Linked DNA regions of Homo sapiens: region 1 is linked to region 2. The links are contacts of gene promoters, found by promoter capture Hi-C in human tissues and cell types (Jung and others, 2019). All regions are on one chromosome and are shown on one strand. The core of a region is centred on a gene start or on the middle of the fragment in contact, and the rest is flanking DNA. Distances in the headings are between cores, read along the strand shown. Region 1 overlaps EYA1 (EYA transcriptional coactivator and phosphatase 1). Region 2 holds the start of MSC (musculin).

The links. Contacts are between HindIII fragments. The study calls those that stand out against the background at their distance.
Region 1: a fragment that was not itself captured here is called in contact with the fragment with the promoter of MSC in region 2 in 1 of the 25 tissues and cell types used here (mesendoderm cells).

Annotation. Positions count from the first base shown.
Region 1 is chr8:71,253,412-71,256,331 of GRCh38, forward strand. The region is part of intron 11 of EYA1 (EYA transcriptional coactivator and phosphatase 1); the gene reads right to left. Among named protein-coding and RNA genes, the nearest start is that of EYA1, 110 kb to the right of the region's middle. The HindIII fragment of the contact is 6,702 bases long and covers 1-2,920 here.
Region 2 is chr8:71,843,016-71,845,961 of GRCh38, forward strand. MSC (musculin) reads right to left here and starts at 1,397. Exons shown (of 2, transcript NM_005098.4): 1 at 630-1,397. The coding sequence starts at 1,163. It overlaps MSC-AS1 (MSC antisense RNA 1), which reads left to right and starts at 108. Exons shown (of 5, transcript NR_033652.1): 1 at 108-689; 2 at 1,214-1,407. RefSeq lists silencers at 746-1,015, 2,855-2,904. The HindIII fragment of the contact is 6,952 bases long and covers 1-2,946 here.

The sequences.
Region 1 (2,920 bases), core at 366-2,865, 590 kb before region 2:
CATCAAACTGATTATATAGGGGAAAGGTGGTCTATTCTTTGGCTCTCTGATGTGAGTATAGCATATTTCTGTAATGTAAATAGTTGATTACTTCCCAGTCAAGATTAGCATGTTAGATTGTATATAAATCTCTAAATCTCTAATAAATATTTATTCTTACACTGAGACAAAGAAACTACCCGTAGAGCAAATGTCCTCAAGTAGGATAGCTGGAATCTGCCTTTAAAGTTAGCCACCAAGCATAGCTATAGACTAACCATGTTAATTCACTGATCCTATCAGTTAGTTCTCTCACTTGAAACTAAGGGTGGTAAATTGAACTTCACCACACTATTGAAAAGATAACAAAGGAATGTGGCACCTGCCAGGTGACTCAGCATGAGTCACTCAAGACACCTACTTGTCCACTAAAGGTAACGAGGAAGCCTTAATCAAAAATATGCAATAATACTGTAGAGCTATTCAAGAAGAGTTGATACTTGAGAAAATATCAAAATTCAGCAAGTGGTTTAGTTTCATCTCAAAACTTCACCTCAGCAAAAATAGCTCTGAGCTAATTATCTGCAACAGGAACTGTCAGTCTTTTTTTCTGGCAGCAAGGCTACAGATATTTGATTCAGATCAATTAAGAATCTGTGGTTCATAAAACTTCCAAACTCTTGAGTTTTCTTCTTCTTAGTCAACCTCCTTAGAGCTAAAACGAAAGAATGTACAGCATAAGTAAAAACATTCTGTAATGGACTGCTGAAGGAGCTTCTCCAACTGGAGTACTGAAGTTTTAAAAACAACAACTAGATGCTCAAGGATATACCCCATCTATAAAGTCTTGGCCAAAAAAAAAAAAAAAAAAAAAAAAAGAAAAGGAAACTGAATCTAACTAAGCAAGCTCCTAGATCTAGCTATCAGATTGTAGGAAATACAGAGGACAAAGAAACATGTTAAATAATACAATAGGGTTGCTGTCAAGAAAACCCAGACTCCCAGGAACTCTGTAGGACAGACAGTCTGGTTACTTCAACAGAAATACACAAGGTTTATAAAAAGGGATTGAGTGAGAATCTATAGATTATAGACACTTAGGAGACATATAATAAACTGTAAAGTAAATAAACAAAACTACTGGAGAAAAACACTTTATAAACTAGAAAGAAAAGGAAATTACCCAGCAAAATAAAGCTCATATATGAAAAGCCCACAACGAACATCATACTCAATGGTAAATGTCTGAAAGTTTTTCCTCTAAGATCAGGAACAAGACAACCAGGCTGCTTTTGCCACTTCTGTGTAACAAAACATAGAAGTTCTAGCCAGAAGTATTAGGCAAGAATAACAAATAAAAGGCGTCAAAGTTGTAAAAGAAGAAGTAAAATGATATCTGTTTACAATGACATAATTTTGTGTGTAGAAAGCCCCGAAGACCTCCCCCCACCCCGCCCCCCACCACACACACAGAGTCTGTTAGAACTAATGAATACATTCAGCACAGTTGCAGGATGAAAAAACAACACACAAAAATCAGTTGTGTTTCTATACACTAACAACGACTAAGCCAGGAAATAAATTAAGAAAATGATTCCATTTACAATAGCAGAAATGAAAGAAATCAAATACTTAGGAATAAACTTAAATAGGGAGGGAAAACACTTGTACGCTGAAAAATTTTAAAAAATTATTGCTAAAAACATTAAAGAAGATACAAATAAATGGAAAGACATCCCATGTTCATGGATGAAAGATATAGTGTTAAGATGTCAATACTATCCAAAGTGATGTACAGATCTAATGCAATCCCTATCAAATCCCCAATAGTATTTTTTTGCAGAAACAGAAAACTCCATTTTGAAGTTTATATGAAATCTCAAGGGACCTTGAAGATCCAAAACAATTTTAAAAAATAACAAACTTGGAAGTGTTACACTTGCCAATTTCAAAACTGATTACAAAGACACAGTAATCAAAACAATGTGGTTCTGGCAAAAATACAGATGTACAGACCAATGGAATATAGAGAGAGACCAGAAATAAGCCCTCACATGTATGATAAGATGATTTTCAATAAGGGTGCTAAGACCATTCAATGAGGAAATAATAGTCTTTTCAACAAACGGTGCTGGGGAAACTGGATATCCACATGCAAAAAATTCAAGGTAAATCGTTACCTTACACCATATGCAAAAATTAACTCAAAATAGATCAAAAACCTAAATGAAAGACCTAAAATATAAAATGGTATAGGAAAAGCTTCATGACATTGGATTTGTCAATGACTTTTTGGATATGACACCAAAAGCAAAGGCAATAACCAAGAAAATAAATTCAAAACATCAAAATGAAAAATGTGTATAATCAAAGGAAACAACAGTGAAAAGGCAGGCCACGGAATGGGAGAAAATATTTGAAAATCATATATTTAATAAGGGGTCAATATCCAGAATATGTAAAGACCTCCTATGACTCAATAAAAAAAACCCTGATTTAAAAAATGGGAAAAGGATCATCTCTAAAGAAGTTATACAAATGGTCAAAAAGCACATGAAATATGCTCATCATCATTATTCATGAGGGAAATGTGAACCCAAACCACTGTGAGTTATTATCTCACAGCCATTAGAATGGCTACTATCAGAAAACAAAAAACAGAAAATAATAAGTGTTGATGAGGATGTGGAGAAATTGGAATCCCTGTGCACAGCTGGTGGGAACATAAAATGCTGCAGCTGCTAAGATAAACAGTACAGCAGTTTCTCAAAAAATTAAGTATATAATTACTATATGATCCCACAATTCCCCTTCTGATTATATACCCAAAAAATACTAAAAGCAGGGAAGACATTTTGCATACTCATATTCATAGCAGCATTATTTAAAACAGTCATAGGTGGAAGCAACTCAAATGACCATTGATAGATATATCAAAAAA
Region 2 (2,946 bases), core at 147-2,646:
TTAGTTCCCTTCCCCAACACACACACACACACACGCACACACACACACACACACACACACACACACAGTCATCCACTCCAAGCTCCAAGTAGGAACTGGGCTTGGACAGGATTTTTCCCAAGCCGGGAGAGCTGGCAGATCAGAGAGGGACTTTCCAGATAAATCCCATCTGGGGAAACGTTACTATCTTCCACAAGCAATTTTTCTAAAAATGCAAATGCTCTTTTATAGAGCTCGGCCTTCCCTCCTTTAAGAAAGGGCTTGCCGATTCAAACCTGCCCGACTCAGCTGGATTAAGTTGGGCAAGGGAGATTTGCCGTCAGTCTGCAACCTGGTGGCAGATGGAGATGGAACCAAGATTTACCCTGGAAGTAGGATATTAGTCAATGGCTGTCACTGGGGTACAATGTTCAGAACGATGCAAACAGACACGGAGGGTTGATTCTTCTTCAGGGAAATGGCTGGCCACTCCCTTGATTTGGGAGAAACTAAACTGGCCTTCTCGTTCCCAGTCCCAGAACCTCCACCCCTTTCGAATTCTTCCCAACGGGCTGACCCTGCCCGGCGCCCAGGAGCGCCCTGGGTATCTCCTGGCTGCTCTCCCGAATCCTTGCGCGCCGCGCCCCTACCAGGTTCACTGGGTGCACGTAGCCGTTCTCATAGCGGTCCTCCTGCAACAGCTGCCGCAGGTGAGCGATGTAACTGGAAGCCAGCCGGAGCGTGTCCAGCTTGGAGAGCTTAGTGTCGGGGGGCACCCAGGGCAGGCTGGTCTTGAGCCTGGAGAAGGCTTTGCTCAGCACGCGCATCCGGGCACGCTCACGGGCGTTGGCCGCGTTCCGCTGCGACTGCTTGCACTCTGCGGCTGAGCCCTTGGCCGGGAGGGGCTTCTTGCCACCACCGCCCGCGCTACCACCTGCGCCGCCGCCCCCAGCCACACGGGGCCGCTTCCTCTTGCAGCCTTCCGCGCTGCCGGCTGTGCCCAGAGCGCAGCGCTCCTCCTCGCCGTCGGGGTCCTCCTCCTCTGCCGACGAGTTGTCACTGGGCGAGGCGTAGCTGCGCTCTACGCCGCGGAGGGGCGGCCTCTTGGAGGCGGGGACCGGGTACTCCCGCTGCAGCCCCCGAAGCTCCATCTCCTCCGGATCACTCACCGAGCCCGTGGACATCCCGTTGTCCCCCTTGCCCACACGCGTCCTCTTTCCTCCCCCCTGGCCAGTCTCGCTGTCTCCGCCTTCCGCTCCCTGGCGGAGGCGGAGGCCAGAGAGCGCTCCAAGGAAGACTAAAAACCCAGGCCGGGAAGCGCGGGGTGAGAAAGCGAGGTGGGTGGCGAGAGCGTGAGCGCCCCTCTGCTGACCCCGGGGAGCGTGGACTACGAGTTGGCGCCCAAGTCCAGAATCCGCGCGCACCGCGGTAAGCTGCGCCTTTTGAAAAGGCTATCTGTACTCCTTGGAACAAACCACCCCGGGCAAAGAAGAGGGGGTTGTAAAGGGGGCCAAGAGGTGGGGCAGGGGCGTGGAAGGGGTGGGGACCGCTTTTCTGCATGCCGAAGAGCGGTTGGTGGAGGCGGGGGAAGGGGACGTCTCTGCAGAGCCGAGATTTGGGCTCTGAAGCCCGACGGCCCTTCAACATGTCTGCGCAGGATAAGTGAGCTTTCGGGGAGTGAAGGGGCACATCTTGTTCCTACCGACGGTGCTTCTACCCCCAGGTAATCTTAGCAGTGGCAAAGATTACCAGACACTTAGAAACGACGGGATTCCGACCTCTGCTTGCCTGCCAGTCTTTCCAGTAGAACTCAGTTTTCAAGTTAACCATTCATGATGTATGATTGTCTACCCAAGCCTTGCTGGACAAGAGAAAAAGCAGAACAGGCAAACAACATCCAACAATGCACAAGTTACCTCTCATTTTCCTCCTCCTTTTCTTATAATATACCTTCATGGTTTACAAAAATGGTTACAATGGTTCGTTGCCTTTTCAAATAACATCTGTAACTTAATGATATTATCTCCAATTTGCAGAACTTGAAGCTGAGCCGCCTAGATAGACGTTAAGTAAAAGACCCAAACTTATTAGGCTAAGTAGAAAAAAAGATTCAAAATCCGCGTTTTGAAATTCTGGCCCGTCGGTATTCTAGTCAGCTCCGTGCCTCCGGGTCACACATCACTGGATGTTGTAGCTGGTATTTTCCACTATCTTGAGAGTTCCATGCGTGATGTGATTTTGTTTTAATACCACAATGCGTGTGTTGGAGGATCCGGCCCTAAAGCTTTGCATTATAATGTAGGGAATCCTTGCTATTGTATTTAATAGATTGTGTATTGAAGAGCGAGCTCCTGGAAGCAGAATGCTAAGTTAGCACAATCGTCCATTCAAAGTAAAAACGACAAAGGAGCACCCTGAATGATCATGTTCCATTCCAAACAAGACTAAAACATCCTGCTCTTCCACACAAGAAAACACAACAATTTTGCAGTCTCATTATTTCCTAACTCGAAGGTCATCGCAGTTCCTGGTCAGGGGATAAGTACGTCTGTGGATACGGGCCCCAGTGGTCAGAGACTGAGTGCCCGCTGTGTGCCCGTCACTGTACTCGCGGCTTGTGAGCAGCTCACTGAGTAATAAAACCCGTATGAGTTTGGCATATGGTTACCCCATTTTACAATGATGAAACTGAGTCGTCACACAGGCTTAGGTGTTCACTTGTTCTTTTCCTGAAAGTCCACAGGCTCCCAAGCTGAGCAAGGTGCAAGGGGACCTATGTGGAGTCAGTCCAGGACAGAGCTGGCAGAGATAGCTGGGCCAGCCTGGCTCCCGCCAGTTCGTACAGCAGAACAAATGCGTCCAGCTCGATGGCTGAAGTGCTGCAACAGGTGGCTGGCAGAGGCTGACTTCATCACTCAGGCATCATTCCACCTTAGTCTCCCAGGCCACGCTACCCTTAGCAGGGGC